Linked DNA regions of Homo sapiens: region 2 is linked to region 1. The links are contacts of gene promoters, found by promoter capture Hi-C in human tissues and cell types (Jung and others, 2019). All regions are on one chromosome and are shown on one strand. The core of a region is centred on a gene start or on the middle of the fragment in contact, and the rest is flanking DNA. Distances in the headings are between cores, read along the strand shown.

Region 1 (3,409 bases), core at 402-2,901:
TCTGGAACATATACTGTTAAATTCACATGCTATCAGTTTTCAAAAGGTCTATTTGATAAATAGCGTCATTAAGTGTCAGCCGTTGTGAGTGTTGATCCTCAGCTCATCCTGGGACTTTCGGATTCCCCTGGAGCAGGGAAAATTGCCTGGGAATCCGAGCCTCCACTCATAGATGCCGTGCGTTTATGACACACACTGACATATTTGCTGTACAAATGCTTTGAATTCCTTCCTTTCCGGCGATTCCCTTCAGCACATTTTATAAAGTGCTAGAGGATCGTCACCTGCCTGTGCCTGGCAGGGGCTGATTTTTGAGAAACAATTGTGGTTTGTAGAGCAGCAAGAATGATTGCAGCATTACAGTGATCCCTATATTATCATACACTAGCCTGTCACAAAGCTAATATACTTCCCCAGAAAACATTCAGCCTGTTGGGTTCTTTTTTCAAGCCTATGTAGCCTTTCCCTGATACTCACACAAATGAATTATCTCTATTTCTGCAGAATATTTTTTTGGAAAGAATTAACAAGACAAAGTCATTAAAACCAAGCTTGGAAGTCTAATCCAATTGGTTTCTCTTTCTAACAGTATGTATTTTAATTTAAGAAACCAAGTCCGGTAAGACAAAACTTTTAAAAATACCCAAAGGTACCCCAATAGCAAATATACTTACTGCAAAAAATAAAAATCAAAGGCTATCTGTCAGCGGTAAAACAAGAGCCGTTCCAGCCAGAGTGTCTTTGATCTTGCTAAATATTCCCGGTGAAAGTAAACGATTTTGATTGTTTGATTAGAACAGTGATGAATAATGCATACAGTCCACTGGACTTCCTTTATCAGATAAAATGGCCAGAGCACGTTACCTTAGCAACGGAAGGTGACGCCAGCCTCAGCCTCTGCACCCTCCCCTGCGAAGGGAGAAAATTACCAGTTTCCCGTGTAAAACTTTGGCAGAAAATCATCAAATCCACATGCATACATCATGCAGGGCTATTCCCCAGCCCCCTATCTCTTAGGCAGAGAAGTGCCATAGTCATTAAAAAAAAAACAAAACAGATTTATGTCTTCATTGTTTATTTTCATAATCCCAAATCTTAGTTTGATTTGCAGCTACAAAAGAATAGAATATGAAATGATTAAAAATTTAATATATAGAAAAGTTGTCTAGAAATTTTTGTGGGGGCACCAGTTATTACCCTAATGCTGGCCTAAGAGTGGCAGGGAATGGGGGAGTTTAGGGAAAGGCCATTTTAGCTTAACATACGTTAGACATTCCCCTGTTATAATTAATACACAGAACAGCCACCGGCATCTAGGCTGAAAATAACTCTTCCCTTCTGCAAATCAGTCACTGGAAGAAGCTTAAAAAGCTGTCTGAAATTTCCCAGATTCTGAAAGACATATTATAGCATAGATTTTGTGGGAGATCCCCACTCCCCCCACAACCCCCATCCCCGGCAAAGGAAAATTAGCCAAAAAGATATTTGAAAGGAAGAGTCTGGAAGTTAGCGGATACTCACCGGCACTTGTTGACCCCTTTCAACAGGACACGGTAGAGTACAAAACAAAGCAGTGCGACGCTTCTGAGCCCGCAAGCACAAATGAACAGCTTCTAATTTTCCCTTCAATCTCGCTTCAAGAGCACTGAGCAGAGGGAAGTGATGGATTTGCCCATTTATACTGTGATGAAATGCAACCCTTAAGAAGAGATCTGAGTGGAGCTGCTCTTTAGAACACATTAGACTGCTAATTTAAGAAAATTGAAAGGTTTTGTTTTACTGTCTTTTATGTGTTCTTCTCTGCTACCCCCTCAATTTAATTTGCATTTAAAATTATTCTCATGTCTCCTCAGCTCTCCAAGGTGTGGAGTACTTTCTAATCATGAAGGCTGCTCCAGTAGGGTTTGGTGCAACACCACTTTTATGCTGAGCTGCAAAACAAGGCAGGTAGTCATAATTGTGAGCTGTTTTCTGGAGCGAAATACAGAGGGCACGTTTGATGTCACCCCTTCCCTCTTGCCTGGCTTTCTTCCTTTCCTTGCTTCTGATTGCCTGGTCAAATATCCAGCGCAGATCATGCCAGTCTGCCTAAATGCATTTCTCTCTGTCTGAATGTAACAAAATAATACCAACAACAAAAATAAACTTTGGCTAGTATCTCAAGTTATTCTGGTTTAATATTCTTCCTACCAAACCTCAGTAATGACTTTTAGGCACAGTACTTTGAGATCTTCATGCAGGGCATAGTGATAGCCAAATGCAAGCCCTACTGTGGGTTTTCCACAACCTCTTGCACCCTTTGTTGACCAAGCAGAATTGCTCATTAGTATGGTGTGGTGTACAGTGGGTCAGCTTGTTAAGAAAAGAGCATTTACATTTGATAAGCCTCGGAAGGAAGACCATCAACACCACCCCTGTCCCCCCACTCCCTATACACAGCTCGGCTGGCTGCCCTTGAAACAAACCTGAAAATCCTCTGCTGTTTGTTTTGTGGGGTCTCCCTCTCCCACCCGATCAGAACAGATCAGACACCAAGCCGGTGCTGCAGACAGTTAAGCCTCATGAAAAAGGAAGCTGAAACTACCAATCATATGCCCTTGTAGGAAAGTCAACTATGGACTCTGAATTCTGAAAGCTTTGCTCCAACCCAAGGACTGACTTCTTTAAGGTTACTTTTCTATTCAGCACCCACTGGAGACATGCTGAACACTTGACATTTATAAGAGGAGAAAGCTGTCTTCTGGTTCCTTTTACTTACTGTGAGGTGTGGGCGACAGGTTCTGAACTCGTTATTGTAATTCTACTGAAATTGTAATGACTCATAGATGAGAGAAAGAGAGAGAGAGAGAGTATAAGTCTATGCTGCTGACCAAACCTTTAGGTGAGTGCAAATGAATGTGTGATTGAAGAAAGAGATGCTAAACTGGAAATGTGAAAAATAGAGTTGATTCCCAGGGGGTAGGTGGTGGATTTGGAAGTCAGTCATTTCTGGAGAGTTGACCAAGAAAGAGAAATTTAAAATACTTTACAAAGTGAACAAATAATATGAAAGGGTCGTAATTTAAGAAAACTCAGGAGGGAAAATTTCAACTTAAAGAAATGTATTTGGGGCCGGGCACAGAGGCTCATGTCTGTAATCCCAGCACTATGGGAAGTCAAGGTGGGTGGATCACCTGAGGTTAGGAGTTCAAGACCAGCCTGGCCAACATGGTGAAACCCCATCTCTACTAAAAATATAAAAAATTAGCCAGGCATGGTGTTGGGTACCTGTAATTCCAGCTACTTGGGAGGCTGAACAGGAGAATCGCTTGAACCTGGGAGGTGGAGGTTGCAGTGAGCTGAGATCATGCCATTGCACTCCAGCCTGGGTGACAGAGCAAGACTCTATCTCAAAAAAAAAAAAGAAAGA
Region 2 (3,409 bases), core at 536-3,035, 58 kb after region 1:
CTATTCAATAGTTGAGTAAAGGATCTCACAAATAAGCTTGGGTTGCTTAAAACTTCAATAAAACCATCTGAAGAGGATCAATATAGAAAGGGGTCATTAAAACAGGGGTTAGATCCCACCGCGAGGTGACATCAAGGCAGATAGCCTGGTGAAGCATTTGAAAAATCAGAAAAATCCTCAAGTGGAAACTAAACATTAACGAAGTATTGCTAGTGAGCTTTAATATCTCCAACAAACAGGCAAGCCCACCTCACATCATCTGTAGCAGGAAAAACACAGCAAAGGCGAATGTTCTGGCAGCCCAGAGTTTCAAGGAAGAATGAAGTACAGTGACGACATGCCTTAGTGAAGCTTGTACATGTGTGTGGGTGCCAGAGCCAAAGAGAGAAAACATATATCTTTCCTCAATCCCCTTTCGAAAAATGAAACTGCTGCATTAGCAAGGTTACTTGAAAAAGATTATTACCTATTCTATTTTTCTTTCTTTTTTTTTTTTTTTTTTGAGACCAAATCTCGCTGTATTGCCCAGGCTGGAGTGCAGTGGCGCGCAAGCTCACTGCAACCTCTGCCTCCTGGGTTCAAGTGATTCTCCTGCCTCAGCATCCCGAGTAGTTGGGATTGCAGGAGTGCGCTACCACGTCCGGCTAATTTTTGTATTTTTAGTAGAGGCGGGGTTACACTGTGTTGGCCAGGCTGGTCTCAAACTCCTGACCTCAAGTGATCTCCCCTTCTTGGCCTCCCAAAGTGCTGGCATTACAGGCGAGAGCCACCACGCCTGGCCTGTTACCTATTCTTTTAAGAAGGTTGTCCCAAATAGTTTTCTTTGAGAGTTACTCTGCTTATTTAAGGCTGGTTTGTTTGTTTTTGCCTTCTTCTCCTTGAACTGTGAAATCAAAAGACAAGTGGAATGGACAAAACCAACGCAAGGTAACTCAGCCAACACTGACAGCTGTCAGTCACTGGAGTTTTTGAAAGAGGAAGCACTTGTTTTCCACTGCAGCCAAAAAAAGGTAATATGAGCAAGCTTGATGGCAAGGTTCTGCTACGTTACTAAAAATGGAAATGTTGCCTGGGCGCGGTGGCTCAGGCCTGTAATCCCAGCACTTTGGGAGGCTGAGTTGGGCAGATTGCCTGAGGTCAGGAGTTCCAGACCAGCCTGGGCAACATGGCGAAACCCTGTCTCTACTAAAAATACAAAAAATTAGCCTGGCATGGTGGCGGGTGCCTGTAATCACAGCTACTCGGGAGGCTGAGGCAAGAGAATCGCTTGAGCCCAGGAGGCAGAGGTTGCAGTGAGCCGAGATGCGCCACTGCCCTCCAGCCTGGGTGACAGAGTAAGACTCTGTCTCAAAAAAAAAAAAAAAAAAAAAAAAAAAAAAAAAAAAAAAAAAAAGGAAATGTTTTTTCTTTGCTTTATTTGAAGATTGTCTTAAGAATAGTGAGATCATTTGAAAAGAAAATGAACAAAAAAGTCTATAATTGTTTGAAAATAATTTAGAAATGTTTATTTAGTTACTGATATTAAGGATAGTAAGGGAATTCATTAACAATCAGTTGCCCTGAAAATAAATATGCTTCTCAAATATCCAGAAAAGAGCAAATACTCTCAGTTTTCATTTTAGTAAAATTAGAGTACCATTTGGATAAATAAAAAATTGTTCTAAGAAAAATACAATGAGGTGCTAAGTGCTTCCCCTGAGTATAATTTTTAGGCACAGTCATTCACATTGTGTTTATTAAGCAGACACAGGTGATTTATATGCATACTTAAGGGTTTTCTAATATATATTGGGTAAAAACTCCATTTAAAACAATGTATCTTTTTTTATAATATTTTATTATTTAGTATAGTATATTTGATATTATAACATACAGAAAATTTTACACATACAGAAAAATTGAAAGAATTTTAGAGCAAACACTGAATACACACCAAGATTCTACCATTAACATTTTGCTATACTCACTTTATCACATAGGTATCCACCCCACTAATCATGTAGAAATTACCATCCTTGCAGAAGCCCTCTCATGCCTTTCTCCGCCAATCCCCAGCCCTTCCTCCCAAAGGCAAAGACTCTAGATTGTCATCCACCTTAGATTTAAAACTCAAATTTAAATGCCACTAATGACTTCCCGAATGCTTATATCATTTTGAAATAGTTGGAAATTTACATAATCCTTTTAATTTGTAAAGTAATCTATCTAATGGGTATTGTCCTTTCTGGTCAAACAAATCAGAGCCCACAGTTCAGGAAGAATCATCAGTCCTCCAGTACAGCATCACTTTGGGTGACAGTTGATCTGTGGGACTCAGTTCTTCATTTGTAAAATAGAGATATCTATACCAGCCTCAGACTCACCTCTGGCATGTTGTAGGTAAGAAAAAGAAGAAAGAGTTAAAGCTTCTACCAAAATGCAAAATGTTTTCCTTAGATGTAGTGATTAGGCAAATTGAATTATTAATGGCACATTGCAGGTACAGTCTTGGCAATCACATGTTTTGCTAAATAAACATTGTGAGCTTTATTTCCTGGAAAATTTGGTAGAATTACATAATTGGCTCAGTGTGCTATAGTTCCACTTTTCTCATTAAGGACATTTAAATTCTTGCTCTAACAAAGCGTGTAAAAACACTCTTTACAATAGTGGTATGTAATAATACGCTTATTTTCTGTCCACTCTAATAATTCAAATACATTTTATTTATTTCATCTTTGTTATTTATTAAATAAATATTTAAGAATAAAATAAAAGAACATTGAGGTCTTTTCTCTACATACTAATGGTAGATCATTTTTAAATTGTTGCCTAAACCACTGCAAAAAAAAAAAAAAAATTGACAGCTGATCATTTTGAACCAAAGAAATTTCTAGCTAAATTACTGCAGGTCTCAAGCACATGAACCATTTCAGATATAAGTCAATTTGAAAATGAGGTTGGAAATCAGTACCCTGAAGAGGCAGCGCAGAACATTTAAATCGCATGGCCTTTGGTTTCCAAATTTGGTGTGTAAATGTTACTGCCTTTAGATGTGACTTTAGAGAAGTCAGTTTCCATCTCTGAATTGTGGCTTTGTAGGTTCCAGAGCATTTATTTGTCCAGGGTATGGTTTGTGATGAGGAGTGTGGGTGAGTTCTTCCTGTGAGTCTATTTACTTCTCAGCCCGGGGCATTCCTTTGTGGCATGTGGGGTCTTTTCCATTGAATGTGCGTGATTCTCTAACTTTGATACGGTTCCCATTTAACCCCAGCAGAGCACAGAGAGATAGGATCATGATGTTCTCAAGTCAGTGATTCTCATGCTTTAATGCACCAAAGGATCCCCTAGGATGTTGATAAAAGTAAGGCTGTTGTGGGATTCAAGCTTCTGCATTTCTAATAAGCTTCCTGGTGAGGCCTATGCTGCT

What was found. Contacts are between HindIII fragments. The study calls those that stand out against the background at their distance.
Region 2: a fragment that was not itself captured here is called in contact with the fragment with the promoter of PHACTR1 in region 1 in 2 of the 25 tissues and cell types used here (dorsolateral prefrontal cortex and spleen).

What each region holds. Positions count from the first base shown.
Region 1 is chr6:12,715,009-12,718,417 of GRCh38, reverse strand. PHACTR1 (phosphatase and actin regulator 1) reads right to left here and starts at 1,651. Exons shown (of 15, transcript NM_030948.6): 1 at 1,522-1,651; 2 at 675-909. The region is part of intron 1 of LOC107984015 (a long non-coding RNA gene); the gene reads left to right. The HindIII fragment of the contact is 3,467 bases long and covers 1-1,999 here.
Region 2 is chr6:12,657,194-12,660,602 of GRCh38, reverse strand. No RefSeq gene overlaps it. Among named protein-coding and RNA genes, the nearest start is that of PHACTR1, 58 kb to the left of the region's middle. The HindIII fragment of the contact is 3,182 bases long and covers 195-3,376 here.